4 separate regions of the Homo sapiens genome follow, and all the other regions are linked to region 1. Evidence: promoter capture Hi-C in 16 types of primary human blood cells and fetal thymus (Javierre and others, 2016). All regions are on one chromosome and are shown on one strand. The core of a region is centred on a gene start or on the middle of the fragment in contact, and the rest is flanking DNA. Distances in the headings are between cores, read along the strand shown.

What was found. Contacts are between HindIII fragments. The CHiCAGO score rates a contact against its expected background, and 5 or more counts as called.
Region 2: a fragment that was not itself captured here is called in contact with the fragment with the promoter of REV1 in region 1 in 1 of 17 cell types (megakaryocytes); the score reaches 5.9 in megakaryocytes.
Region 3: a contact is called between a fragment that was not itself captured here and the fragment with the promoter of REV1 in region 1, in 1 of 17 cell types (erythroblasts). The highest score is 5.6, in erythroblasts.
Region 4: a contact is called between a fragment that was not itself captured here and the fragment with the promoter of REV1 in region 1, in 1 of 17 cell types (neutrophils). The highest score is 5.9, in neutrophils.

The regions. Positions count from the first base shown.
Region 1 is chr2:99,488,064-99,491,817 of GRCh38, forward strand. REV1 (REV1 DNA directed polymerase) reads right to left here and starts at 1,954. Exons shown (of 23, transcript NM_016316.4): 1 at 1,754-1,954. RefSeq lists silencers at 1,429-1,508, 1,579-1,678, 1,789-2,458 and an enhancer at 1,892-2,777. The HindIII fragment of the contact is 11,070 bases long and covers 1-3,754 here.
Region 2 is chr2:99,081,170-99,084,923 of GRCh38, forward strand. TSGA10 (testis specific 10) reads right to left here. Exons shown (of 21, transcript NM_025244.4): 11 at 113-228. Among named protein-coding and RNA genes, the nearest start is that of C2orf15, 59 kb to the right of the region's middle. RefSeq lists an enhancer at 630-1,388. The HindIII fragment of the contact is 6,735 bases long and covers 1-3,754 here.
Region 3 is chr2:99,101,703-99,105,456 of GRCh38, forward strand. TSGA10 (testis specific 10) reads right to left here. Exons shown (of 21, transcript NM_025244.4): 9 at 3,657-3,734; 10 at 2,265-2,416. It also overlaps the pseudogene SMC3P1. Among named protein-coding and RNA genes, the nearest start is that of C2orf15, 38 kb to the right of the region's middle. The HindIII fragment of the contact is 899 bases long and covers 1,717-2,615 here.
Region 4 is chr2:99,168,454-99,172,207 of GRCh38, forward strand. It overlaps MITD1 (microtubule interacting and trafficking domain containing 1), which reads right to left. Exons shown (of 7, transcript NM_138798.3): 3 at 3,057-3,193; 4 at 2,890-2,976; 5 at 2,084-2,199; 6 at 1,097-1,157; 7 at 810-1,017. The coding sequence ends at 922. Among named protein-coding and RNA genes, the nearest start is that of MITD1, 11 kb to the right of the region's middle. The HindIII fragment of the contact is 3,867 bases long and covers 101-3,754 here.

The DNA of each region.
Region 1 (3,754 bases), core at 704-3,203:
GTAGGGCCAGAAATCTAACCTCCATGTAACTGTGAACTTCCTGTCTTTCCACTACAGCAGCTATCAAAGAAAGTGCTTTCAAATATATATTATATGTAGTCACTGCAACTTCTTATGAATAATGACCAGTTTGTTGCTGGTGAGGACAACGTTTCCTTAATGCTCTTATGTAGAATCAGAGTTTTGAAGTTGCGAGTGGGAAGTTGGAAATGTAGTGATCTTATATATTCAAGCACATTATTTTTTAAAAATTATGTTCTACTTGAGACCTCATAGAAATTAATTTTAAAAGAGCAATTCCCATCTTTACAAAAAAAATTAAATATGTACGGTTTACCGTAAAATAGCGGTTAAGGTTCTACAACAAAAGATAGGAGTTTGGTACAGACTCTACCCTCAAAAGGTCCTACACAGTAAGAGAAGACAGGGCTAAAAAGATAAACGCAACACAGGAAAAGGCGCAAATAGCCTAAGAATTGAATGGAAGAGAGCCTTGTATACTGGAGAATGATTCCTGGAAGAGGAACTTTAGGTGAGCTCTTAAGTGTCCAGTACAGGAAGGCAGGGAACAATACGCAGCACTGGTCCCTGCACGGGCAAACCCAAGAATATGTGTGAAAGGTTGGTGGACAGATAGATGGTTCCCACAGGCTGATTTGCTACATACAGAACTCCATAGAAAGAACCAAGGTTATGGTTGGTCCTACCCTACCTAAACAGGAAATGGCTTATTCTCGGAGACTAAAGTGCCAAGTCCGGAAAGACCAGACAGATACACAGAATTACAGACTGTTACATAAAGTCCTTAATAGTTACAAGCCCTTGTTGTGCTATGTGCTAGTCTGCATTATTTTCACCTAAATGAAACCATTTCTACTTAGTACATGGCGTGAGAAGACGTGGAGATAAAGAGAATTAGCAGACGTATATTATCTGCAATTTATCTTACGGAGGAGTACATTAAGGAGTGTTATGTGAGATTATTTCTTTACAAACTGAGAATAGGTAGGAAGAGCAGCGAAACACAGCGCGGCTCGGTGCGCCCAGAGCGGCGTCACTGTAACAGTACAGAAGTGGGCAAGGGGCTCTCGGAAGGACAGTTGGGGAACGGCGCCCAGCGTATTTAGCGAACGGACAAGCAGCAAGGAAAAACAAGGGAGCAACAACCGCCTTCGGACATTCCGACCGGTTCTGGGATGCACCGGGGACGTCGAAGGCGGGGTGCGGAAAAACGCTGTGGCTGGAGTGCGGGTGGGAGCGGCGGCTCGACCGGGTCGACATTCTACAAACGCTTGTGGAACGAACGCCCGAACGCGCGCGTGAATGAATGGCGCGGAACTGAATGGCCGGCCGAGGCGCCGGCGCAGGAGGAAGGAGTTTGCGGCGCGGTCTGACCGGGCCGGCGGGATGCGGCCGGGCGCGGAGGGAAGGGCCGCTGCGCCAGGGGTCGGCGCGGGGCGGCCCATGGGGCTGGCGGCGGCGCGGGGCCGGCCGCGCCATGACGGAAGGGAAGGGGAGGGGAGGTCACACATTACATAACCCGGCGGCTGCGAGCGTCAGGGGAAGGCGCCGTGGACAGCCCAGGCCGCGACAGGACGGCCGCGGGCCGGGGCCGGGGCGACGCACCCCTCCCCCGCGCCACCTCAGGCCGACCGCGCTCTGGCCGCTGCCGGGCGGGTCTGCGGCGCCTCCGGGCGACGCGTGTCCGATCCCGCCCCTCCCCCACCCCGCCGCCGGCCCGGGGGTCGCTCACCTTCCGCGTTGCCCCAGACCACCATGCCCGGGCCCGGCGGCCTTCTCCGGCCTTGCGGACCCCGGCCCCGCCGCCGCCAGTGCCCTCGCCAGGGACCAGGGAGGAGGGCCGGGGGAAGGCAGCCCCACCGCTGAGCAGCGCCGCGGTCCACGCTCCCCCACGCTCGCGGCAACCAACCCCGCGCGCGCTCCGCGGTGGCTCTCCGCCCCTCCCCCTCCGGTTAGCGCGCGCGCCGCAGCCACGCCCCCTAGCGTTCCGCGCGCGCTCCCCGGCCCCGCTCGCGCTCACAGCCGCGCGGCGCACGCGCTCTGCTCCCCCCGGCCCGGGGCGACCCCAGCCTCGGGCGTAGCACCGCGGCGCCCGGCGTCGGCCTCCGTGTTCCTCCCCTCCCCGGCCCCGCCCTGTTGTTCTGCAGCCGCCCGCAAGGGGCAGCGCCTGGGCGGCACGTGACCGTCTCGCTAGCTGGGCGGAGGGGAGCGCAGCGCGGGCCCGCCCACGCACTGCGCCGCCTGCCCGCCCGTCCTGCTCCGGTCACCCCCGCGCTTCGTTGACCGGGTCGCGGCTCTTCGGTTGCCATTCGGACAGCGCGCCGCTCCGTGCACAGCGAGTCCCCGCGCCTGCCCCGCCTTGGGGCTCCCCAGTGGGGAAGGACACAAGTGCAGACACTGACCGGGCTTCAAACCCCGGTACTGTGTGAAGATGCGCCAGACGCCCGGGTTCCCTCCTTAAGCAATTGATTTACAGTGACATCTAGTGGAGAAAGGGACACACATGAACTGACATTTTCCTATGTCCAGAGCAACCGAGAACCACGGCCCACTCAGGTTCGCGGGAAGGAGCACTGCGCCACGGCGTTTTCGGGATTCGTGGCCTGCTCCCGCAGGGCACAGACACTATCTTCTGTCCTTTGAGTGCCCGGGCAGCATTGCGCCTGAGTATTTGTAAACGGAGGGCCGGTATCCCATCCCATGTACAGCGCTGGAGTTACCCGAGAAAGCAGTTTTCTATGAATATAAAAATAATATCCTATATTATGTATGCGTAAGTACAATTCTAATTGAGGGCCTTCTAGCAGAAAACAATCCGTCCATAAGGACCACTTTCTCCCTCTTGGCAGGGTCGCTTTGAAGACTCCACATTGTTACATAATAGTCTTTATTGTTGTAATGCACAAACATGAAGATACTTTTTTCCCACTCATTCCCTTGCCTAAAATGCTTCAGAGTTTGCAGGTACTTAGGAAACAATCAGTATTCTTTTGAAAACTGATTTGCAGAGTTGGAACTTGTTTACTAGCAACACAGAGAATACTCAAATAGCTCATTTCTTTCCCTTTCAGTTTTTTGCCATTTTATAGACTTCTATAAATGCACTTCAACTTCAGTATTCTCGTCGCTAATCCAACGAATTTAGATTGCATACTTTTCAAAGACGTCATAATTTAAAACAAATTGCGTAATTGCTTTCTTTTCTTTTCTTTTCTTTTGAGACGAAGTTTTGCTCTTTTGCCCAGGCTGGAGTGCAATGGCGCGATCTCGGCTCACTGCAACCTCCGCCTCCCAGGTTCAAGTGATTCTCCCACCTCAGCCTCCCGAGTAGCTGGGATTACAGGCATGCGCCACCATGCCCGGCTAATTTTTGTATTTTTAGTAGAGAGGGGGTTTCACCATGTTGGCCAGGCTGGTCTGGAAGTCCTGACCTCAGGTAATCCACCAGCCTTGGCATCCTAAAGTGCTAGGATTATAGGCGTGAGCCACCGTGCCTGCCCATAATTTTAACAGACTCACGACCAGTTGCCGACTGCAACACCAGGAGGTCATCTGCTGAGATGCTACAGAAAAACAGTGGTAACCCCTTGTTATGGGTGAGTTTTGTTTTGGTTGTTGTTCTTTTGCTTGTTTTAAATGTCTAAATGGCAGCATTCCTGCACGATTGTATTTCAATTTTCTTTTCCACTCTCGTATTCAAACCGAAGATCTTTTTTTTTCTTCTTTTTGTATT
Region 2 (3,754 bases), core at 830-3,329, 410 kb before region 1:
TAGTTAAGGGCTTGTTTCCAAGTTTTTCTATGTTATACTGAAGAGAAGAAAATACATCTTTGCTACCAAACTTAAGAAAAACTAAAAGTAATATTAAGAGAAAAAAACTCACCAATTTTTTCATCCAAGCACATAATTTTCTCCTGAGTAAGCTGTAGCTCATATTTTTTCTTAGCAAGGTGTCGCTGAGTATCAGAAAGATCTTTTTCTGTGTTTTCATACAAAAGTCTGCAAATATTTTAATAATAAAACTAATTCTGAAATTTTTGTTTTGTCATCTTGTAGTGTGTTTAAATCTAAAAACTTTTAAGGACACTAATATATTTATTTCCTCTTAATATTTTTATACAGTTTTAATATTTTCATTATAAAACCAGGAAGTTTAAAAAATAAAGGGTAAGAAGGGATCTTCAATCCACCACTCCAACATAAGCTACTATTAGCATTTTGGTCATAATACCTTCCTTAGGTCCCCTAATGCCAAATCAGAGCAATCAGATTAGGAACTACTATGTTAGCTCTGGTTGGGGTTTGTCTGTCTCAATAGCCTAGGGTTTTATGTTTTAATTCAGAAACAAGATGAGGCCATAGAGATGTCTGCAACACAGGAAATAGAACTAAGGTGTCCCATGTAAATATGGAGAGATATACCATTAGTGAGAAGGTCAGACTAGAGAAAAACACCTTGTCAATTGCTGCTAGGCTCAGGAAAATAATAACAACTGTAATGCCTAACCTTGTTTTTTACTAACTCTATTTTTAAATTTTCCCTTTTTGTCTCCTTAACTACCTAGCCTTGTTTCCCATATAAATAAGACTCTCCCTTAGCTGGGAAAGCCGGACAAACTCCATTTGGCCCCTTGATTTACAAGACATTAAGGGCTCCTTACCCGACCCCCTTCCTCAAGGAGTTAACCTGTGTAAGCAGACCCTCAGCATTTCAAAGGAGCCAAATTAACTGATAAGGTACTGGAACAAACAATGTGTGAAGTTCCCAGGATTTTGCTCAAAAAGATAACAACATAAAGCCTTGAGTCTGTGTCCAGCATAGCATCCATATCTAACAAAGGATTTAGAGCCCCGCACCTGGTTCCGTTGCTTTTTTTTGTAACCATTTGCCTTTTAAATTGTTAATCTCTCTGTAACCATTTGTTTTTTTGATTCTTGCATGTTTTTACTTCTGTAGAATTATTGCATTTGAGCTCCCCTCCCCTTCCTAAACTAAGGTATAAAGTTAATCAAGCCCCTTCCTCGAGGCTGAGAGAATTTTGAGCGTTAGCCGTCTCTTTGGCCGCCGGCTTAATAAAGGACTCTTAATTCGTCTCAAAGTGTGGCGTTTTCTCTAACTCGCTTGGGTATAACACAACAAAGAGTCTTAATCTCAATCTAAGCATCAAAATAAAATTTGGTTCCCGATTGGTCATATAATCAGGAACCCCTTGCAAAACTCTGGAGGCATGCTCTCAACCCAAGCACAGAACTAACCCCAGACAAAGGCCTATGGAAAAGGATCTCATAATTCAAAATTTAAAAATACATCAAGAAACAATCCAACCTTAGTGGGAGTCAAAAGACACACAAACTAAATTAGATCCCTAAGAACTTCAGACTACAGCACTATCAAATAGAAACTTAGAAATACATGTGTTTAAATACAAACACATAAAATAATAGGATATATAAAGAAAAAAATAATCAACAAATTTGGAAAAGAACCAAATAGAACTTCACAAAATTAAACTAACATCAAAATTTTAAAGATTACAAAACTCAGTGGACAAGTTAAAAATACAGAATAGACACTGTGAAAGAGATAACTGGTAAACTGGGGAAAAAAACAGATCAGAGGTCCTATATTAGAGCACAAATAAAACAATGAAAAAATACAAAATAGAGGTTAACAGACATAAAAGACAGAATAAGAAGGTCCAATATTTACCAAATCAAAATCCCAGTAGGGAAGAATAAAGACAATATTCAACAAAATAATACCTAATAAAAGATGAAATCCAAGACTAAAGAGGTATTAACCTGTATCTATTAAGACAATTATAAATGGGGGAGGATAAAAGGACTTAAAAGGAGACAAGATTTCTATACTTTATGCAAACTGATAAAATGTGACACCAGTGGATCGTGATAAGTAAGTACAATTCACAGAGCAACCACTGAAAAATCTATAGACACTCAAAAATACTACAGATATCAAAAATGGGATTCTAAAAAATGTCAAGTAATCCATGAAAAGGCAGGAAAACAAAAACAGAGACATGAGAAACAGAGGAAAGAAACAAACGAAAAACACCCCCAAAAAATAACATGGAGAATTGAGCCCTACCAATAATTATATTAAATGCATATGGTCTACCTTATTTTTAACAGCCAAAACCTGGAAAAAATCAAAATGTCCCTCACCAGGTGAATAGCTGAACAAATTATGGTACATTCATACTATGGAATGTTACTCAGCAATATTAAAAAGTAGCAAAATTTAATACTTGGCTGGATCTCAATGGCATTATTCTGAGTTTTCAAGCGAATCTTGAAAATCATGGCTGTATGACTCTTCCTATAACATTCTTGAAATGACAAAATTACAGAGTTGGACAACAGATTAGTGTCAGATATTAGGGATCATGGTGGGGGAAGAGGAGATGTGACTGTAAAGGAGTAGCATGAGGGATATTTTTGCGGTAATAGACTTTCCGTGTCTTGAATGTGGTAGTAGTTACATGAAACTACATATGTGATAAAATGACAGAACTATGCACACACATTGTACCAATGTCAATTTTCTGGCTTTGATATTGTACTATAGTGATATAAAATGTAATCATTGTGGGAAAGTGGGTGACGGGAATACATCGACTTATCTGTATATTTTTGTAACTTCCTACAAATTATGAAATTATTTTAAAGCAGCAAAACAAAAAAAAGTCCTAGAGTTAGGCTGCACAATTATGCCAATTAAATTAAAATCTCTGGGAATGAGAATTAACATCACTATTGTTTTTTAAAGCTCCTCATTTGATTCTAATATGCAGCCAAGGCTGTTAAGGAATGCATCTGATATGGTTTGGATGTTTGTCCGCTACAAATCTCATGTTGAAATGTGATTTCCAATGTTGGAAGTGGGGCCTGGGGAAGAGATGACTGGATCACGGGGGCAGGTCCCTCATGAATGGTTTAACACTATCCCCTTGGTGATAAGTGAGATCTCGCTAGTTAGTTCACATGAGATCTGGCTGTTCAAAGAAATCTGGGACCTCCCCTTTTCTCTTGCTCCTGCCCTTGTCATGTGATGCACTGGCTCCCCCTTTGCTTTCCACCAAGATGGCAAGCTGTCTCGTGCCCTCACCAGAAGCAAATGCCAGCACCATGCTTCCTGTACAGCCTGCAGAACCATAAGCTAAAATAAATTTCCTTTCTTTTAAAATGACCCACACTCAGGTATTTCTTTATGGCAACACAAGAATAGACTAATAGAGCCTCCTGATGTCTCTTCATCTAGGGTAGCAAAAGGTGAAAAACTGACAAAGCAGGTGTATATGAGGCAGAAAGTGATAGTGGTTTTATGGCATCAGCGTCTCTCCCATCCCCCCATACCATGAACTCAAAGAGGCTGATATTGTTAGTCACCCAAGAGCATTGTTTTACACAATAACTTATATCTCCATGGCAAAATGTGTCCCAGGGCCAAAATTATAAGACATTTGAGATGGCCAGTCATTTAAAAACGAAACAAAACCCACTG
Region 3 (3,754 bases), core at 916-3,415, 390 kb before region 1:
AAAGATTCAGCCTCAAGAAAGGAGGAAATTCTGTCATATGCTACAACGTGGACAAACACTGAAATTATGCTAAGTGAAATAAGACAACCAGAGAAATACTACTCAATACTCCACTTACAAGATGTCTCTAAACAGTTAAACTCAGAAACAGAAAGTAAAATGGTAGTTGCCAAGGATTGACTGGAGGGGGAAATAGGGAGTGCTGTTCAAAGGATACAGAGGTTCAGTTGTGCAACACGAAAAACTCTAGAGATCTGCTTTACCACACTGTTCTTACATTTAACAATACCGGATTATACACTTAAAATTTTGTTAACAGAATTAAAGAAGTACAGCCATGTTAACAAAAAGGCTTTGGATCAGTTTGTAAATTTCTCTGAGCAGAAAGAAAAGTTAATAAAGCGACAAGAAGAGTTAGATAGGGGTTACAAATCGATCATGGAGCTGATGAATATACTTGAACTTCGGAAATATGAAGCTATTCAGTTAACTTTCAAACAGGTATCCAAGAACTTCAGTGAAGTATTCCAGAAGTTAGTACCTGGTGGCAAAGCTACTTTGGTGATGAAGAAAGGAGATGTGGAGGGCAGTCAGTCTCAAGATGAAGGAGAAGGGAGTGGTGAGAGTGAGAGGGGTTCTAGCTCACAAAGCAGTGTCCCATCAGTTGAGCAGTTTACTGGAGTTGGAATTAGGGTGTCATTTACAGGAAAACAAGGTGAAATGAGAGAAATGCAACAGCTTTCAGGTGGACAGAAATCCTTGGTAGCCCTTGCTCTGATTTTTGCCATTCAGAAATGTGACCCGGCTCCATTTTACTTGTTTGATGAGATTGACCAGGCTCTGGATGCTCAGCACAGAAAGGCTGTGTCAGATATGATTATGGAACTTGCTGTACATGCTCAGTTTATTACAACTACTTTTAGGCCTGAACTGCTTGAGTCAGCTGACAAATTCTATGGTGTAAAGTTCAGAAATAAGGTTAGTCATATTGATGTGATCACAGCGGAGATGGCCAAAGACTTTGTAGAAGATGATACCACACATGGTTAATTGGAAAATACTACTTACTGGTTTGGGAGTTGTGTATAGTAATATGATTCTCATACCCAGAACTGTAAATATAAACCTAAATATTTGGCCAATAGTTTTCAGACTTAAAGCATCATAGTCCTTTTATATTTGTCTTTGTATTTTATAAGATACTCTGTAATGTCATGTTTGTACTTACAGTTTTAGAATTTAATTTCCTGTACAACTTTTTGTAAAATGTTCTGCTCCTATTTTAAATGTTTTGAAACATGCTAAATATTCTTTCCTAATTATTTTATCGCTTATACTGCCTTTTTTATAGCTTCAATTAAATAATTGGTTTTATGACTAAAAAAAAAAAAAAAAAAAATTGTTAAGAAAGACCAGGCCCGGTGGCTCATGCCTGTAATCTCAGCATTAATAGGAGTGTGAACTACTATTTTTCTTTCTTAAGTTCCGGGGTACATGTGCAGAACATGCAGGTGTGTTACACAGGTAAACATGTGCCACGGTGGTTTGCCGCACAGATCAACCCGTCACCTAGATATTAAGCTATTACTATTTTTCAATGTTCATAGATGCAATGAAATTCAACCTTACTGAATCTGTAGAACCTCTGTTTCTCACAGCAACAGATACTAAAAGTAAAACCACTCATGTAGAGGTCTTCAAAAACTCATTCTCCCAAGCTTATTGCTGTAGGCTGCTTCAATTGATACATCTTCGGCAACCATGCCAGTACACAGGAAAGGCTAAGTATAGTACTTGCATTCAATTAATAGATGCTCCATCACGTGCTCCTATTTCTCTGTTACGGCTTTTCATTATATTCTAAATCACCCTTTTTCTAAGCAACTGCCAAACCTGTGCTTTGTGTTTTCTTATACTGTTCATATCCCCAAACAGAATTTAAAGTTATAAAGGTAAACAATCAAAGTCAAATATATTCTGTACCCAGAAGAGCTTTGTAAAAGCTATTTCAGTTAAAAGTTGAAGTTTTTTACAAATGTAAAGTAAGATTACTAGAAGTGTGATTCCTAGTTAAGTGTGGCATTACCAGCCTGTGATTGAGCTCAGGAAAATTGTTCACTGTGTGCCAAGGGTTCCTACAACTGCTTTTCAATAATCCTCTCAGAAACTGAACTCAACAAATAATTTTCATTATAAAATACACTATAAAAAGCAGAGCTATAGTTATAGTAAACTGTTGGTTGTTTAAAGGTGATTTAGTTTACCTCAAAGAATTATTCTCTGCTTTTTGTCTGCCAAGTTCACTTTCGGTATCCATTGCCTTTCTTGCTAGTGATTTCATTTCTTTTTCCACAGTGCTTATGGTTTCCTTCATCAAAGTCATATTTGACATTTGCTCCATACGTTCATCATCAAGCTATACAAGTAGAATGACAAGGTTACTGCCATCACTAAAAACACCTTAGTAATCTTCCTGAAGGGCATACTCCCTCTGTACAAACTGGTTTATGGCAAGACTGACAGGATGAGATTATCAGGTTAGACCTGACTGCTGTAGAAGGTTTTACAGATAAGGTGTTGTGAAGTAGGACCAAGGAAAAGCCACTGCAAAGTAAAGCTTATCACAGTATATCAGTCTATATTTTTCAATCTGGTTCAATTTGACTATAGTATAAATATGCTGTTTGCAAAAGAATTTATTTGTTGCCCAACATTAATAAATTACACATATAATGTAGAATTATGAAAACAAAAATTATTTTCTCCTGTCTAGTAATTTTTTTTTTTTTTGAGACAGAGTATCGCTCCATCGCCCAGGTTGAAGTGCAGTGGCGCGATCTCGGCTCACTGCAATCTCCACCTCCCGGGTGCAAGCAATTCTCCTGTCTCAGCCTCCCAAGTAGCTGGGACTACAGGCGCATGCCACCACACCTGGCAAATTTTCATATTTTTAGTAGAGACAGGGTTTCACCATATTGGTCAGGCTGGTCTCAAACTCCTGACCTTAGGTGATCCACCCGCCTTGGCCTCCCAAAGTGCTGGGATTACAGGCATGAGCCACCGTGCCCAGCCCCTATCTCATATTTTTAACTCATTACAATAAAACAGTACAGATGAACTTATAAATATATTCAATTATATTTGGTAATAGAAAGTTAAATTCTCTTATGTTTATATAGTGACAATATCATCAATATATATTCGTAGCAATATCAAATCTGATTAGGAAAAAGGTGATGTTTCACATTTAAATTTAGTTTAAATAAACTTTGCTTATAATTTTTATTTCATCATAATTTTCTCTCCTTATCCACTCTTTAGGTAGAATAAACCATTTTCTTTACATCTGGCAATATTATCTTTAACAAAATATGGAGATGAGAAAGTAGATAAGATCCCTGAAAATGAATGCCTAATGATTTTTTTAAAGTACATACTTTGCAACCTAACACCAAAAAACATTTACTCACATTTTTAGAAGGAAATAAACAAATGAAAAAGTGACAATTTACACTATAAAATACCTTAAGTATTTTAGGACTATAAACACTATCTTAGAAAAATAAAATAACTTCTCTGAATACAGAAAAAGGAGAAAGGGGAAAGCCATTGAGTGTTTATAGCCAAAAGAGACTTTTCTTTTTTTTTTTTTTTACATTATGAACTGTACACTCCAGCTCCTCTATCCTTTGTTCCAGGTGAGCCTTCTCATTAAATGCTGTCTCTTGAGCAATCTGATTAAAAAGCAAAAACA
Region 4 (3,754 bases), core at 784-3,283, 320 kb before region 1:
AGCTGTGGACCGCCCACTACCTCTAGCATACAACCCCTCTTCAGCCTGTCTCCATGGAATCTATTCTGTCTCCAACCACACAACTGGCATCTGGATGAAAAGCTTACCCAGAACAGTTGATTCTAAGCTGCAAGGCTTTACAAATGTGCCAGCCAAAGTGAATGAGCTGCAAAATGCATTTGGATAACTGAATGGGTTGATTTGCCTTCATGGAGTTAGGTAATACTGCACAACTGCATGATGGTAAATGTTTACCAAAGACAATTCTCTTAATTGTAACAAAATTAACATTTTACTTTCCTGTTTATTAGACCCCAAGCCCATCTGTCTCTTTTTTTTCTTTTGAGACAGGGTCTGGCTCTGTCACCCAGGCTAGAGTGCAGTGGTGCAGTCTCAGCTCACTGCAGCCTCAACCTCCTAGGCTCAAGTGATCCTTCCACCTCAGCCTCCCAAGTAGCTAGGACTATAGGCACATGCCACCATGCCCGGCTAATTTTTTTTTTTTTTTTTTTTTTTTTTTTTTTTCTGATACAGGTTGCCCAAGCTCCATCTGTCTCTTTAAAAGCACTCTAATCCATGGTGTCTTTCCCTCCTGGACTTAAAACTCCCACAGGCAAAATTAAGATCTAATTCATCTTCCTAATAGATGCTTATTATTTGTTGACATGCTCCCGCAGCCAAGTAACAGAGAAGCTGGTAAAATGTTTAAATTAGCTGTATTACTTGAAAGAAACATTGTAAATCTGCTGAGTAATATATTTACAAAAATATTTAGGATTGTTCCCACAACTGAATGATGGATCCATAAATTAGTAGAAATATAAAAGTTTATTGTTAAATTCATACATTATAAAAGTGATCTTTTAAAAAAAATCCAATATTCACTTAAAGTAGACATAATACAAATTAGGCTACCACCCATCATATATTTTTTGTATGCTTCTTATGAAAAATGTCTACTGTTGTTTCATGACATGGTCTTAAATCAAAATCACAATATCCAAGGGAAAAACGACTCTAAGAAGAGAAGAAAAGAGTATCATTAAAAATGATACAAAAACAGTGCTACACATTTACTCATAAGATTATATCCTACCTGTGGTTTCTTAAAATAATCAAGTCCCCTTCCAATCTTAATCATCCATCCATTGTTGAACCTGTTGAAATTAGTATATAGTATTATATTCAAGACATTTAAGTCAGACTATTAATAAAGCTGTAGTGTATTAAGTGTCAGCAAAATTTCCCCCTAACAAAGCAAACCACTTCCTCCAGTGGCATGAGTTGAATCAAACCTGGGGTTCATTATGAGCTGTGTCCACAATGAAAACAGTCATAGAAACAATCAGTTGATTTAATTATCTGATAGTTTAATCTTGAATTTCAGCTTGTTGATAAAACTTTTTCGTGTTCTGCTAACAAGTGGTGGCAAAGTGTATTCAGGGAAACTGGTGGTGTTTCAAGAGTTCCCCTACCTAGAGATGGGGAATGTGCAGGAGGAGCCCTGGACCCTGACCTCTGCTTTAACTACAGCAGCTGCATTTTCATCTGTTTTGCATATTTAGTTTGTGATTAAGTTTTTATTAAAACTGAGTGCCCTTGCTATAAACATAACCACTGTGCTAAACAAAAGGAAGATATCACTAAAATAACTGCATATTCTGTTTTCTTATAGACTCAGCAAATTGTCATGCCTACTAGAATATTTAATAACCCCTAAGAAGTAAAGCCACATTAAGTAAATATTAAGTTCACTAGAAAATAAATTATCCTAATATCATAACACTATATATACAGTTGAGTAGACAGAAAAGTGTTCTCTTTTTCTATATGACACAGAACATGTAAATACTATTCCATTAGGAAATATTAAACTCACACACAAAACACTTGGCTTACTTTGTCAAAAAGAAAGCCAAGTGTTTTTTTTCTTCTCAAAAGTGAAAAAGTACTAAATGGAGTTTTATTTGAATTTTAAATATTTATAAATTATTAAATATTTATAGGCAATTATATAAAACATTTACAAAAATTTTAAGTATATATCAACTGCATAAAAATTAAAACATTATTGTAGACTAACCTAATTTCTCGGTCATGTATTGAAGAAGAGTATTGAACTTCCAACAGCACTCCGTGACTCCTGAGTGACTCTTCTATTTCTTGCAGGCCTCTACTTTGCTGCACTTGCTCAATGCCCTGTTAATAGCAAAAATACGATTATCTGCCGCAGTTATTATTACTATCTTAAATTATCCCTAAGCTATACAATCTATATCACAGGTGGATTAAGATGGAAATGTTCTATACTAGTTTCAATGTCTATTATCTCAAAAAAACAACCAATGTGAGGTAGTTTAAAGAGCAATTATTTTTATCAAAATCATCTTTTTTTCTAATGTGAACATAACTCCATCCTGTCTCCTTAAATGTAGTTTAGAATAGTTTTAATCATCCAGGTGGAGCTGACTGCTTTTGAAATCAATCGTAGAAATCATAATTATTTAGAAGCATTCTTATTTTAAGTCAAAACCAAGATAGAGATGCCCACTACCATATCATATCATGCTACCATCCCCCAGATATAATAATTGGTAAAGAAACAAAATTGTTCATAGTGCAGACAGTGTGATTGCCTCCTAGAATATCCAAGAGACTAAACTAACAAACTATTTGAATAAGTGCATTTAGCAAAGTGGCCAAATACAAAATCAGCATCCTAAAATCAATAACTTTTTTTATGACATGTTATGCATACTGTTAGATAATAAGTTAATTCCCAAGGAAACAAATCTAGCTGAAGCACTGCATCTGTGTTCTCCTTGACTGGACTACATCTTGTAACTGAATAAAGTTAATAAGAAAGAGTAAGTGCTTTCAGGTACCTACTTCATCCAGAGAGGTGAGAAGGTGAATAGTTTTTACTTTACATGGTCTCTTAATAAGCATCTCACAAAATCGAAGAAAGTTATACAGCTAAAAGACATTAGAATGGATTATTACTAATTTAGTACATTGAATATGATATTTCATTATATTTTAGTATGTTCACATACCTGATGAGTATGTCTAATATAAGGATCTTCTATCCAAACTTCTGTAACTGTCTCATTAAGGTATTCGCGAAAAAGTGACTCATAACTGAAACCTGTTGCATTCTCTTCTATTTTAATTTGCTTGTGATATTTTCCATCTATAAAACACAGGCTTCAACAGTAAAACCAGTGACCATTTTTTTTTTACACATTTTATATTTTATATAGAGTGATTAATCAGCATCAGATACATATTAATTTTTTTAACTTATTCAGCAAATACTTATTGAATGCCTACTAAATATCATATACATTGCAGGATGTTACACGTACAAAGGTATTTAAGGCAAACCACTCCATTAGTGATTTCTGCCTTCACAGAGGCTAGGCAAGGGGGAAAATCTAGAGGTTTCCTGGAACAGGTCCTTGAGCAAGATCCTATAGACCAGGCAGTTTGTTGAAGGGAGTAGTGTATATATAAAGGTATCCAATAACTCCCTGTCGCCATGGGTAGCACCACATACTGAAACTCAGTGGCTATCTGGTCCTCCTCTTCAGACTTGTCTTTTTATGTCTTGCAATCTAATAACTAAAGTGAGTATTAAACATGAATGCAGGGCAGAGCGCGGTAGCTCACGCCTGTAATCCCAGCATTTTGGGAGGCCAAGGTAGGTAGATCATTTGAGGTCAGGAGTTCGAGACCAGCCTGGCCAACATGG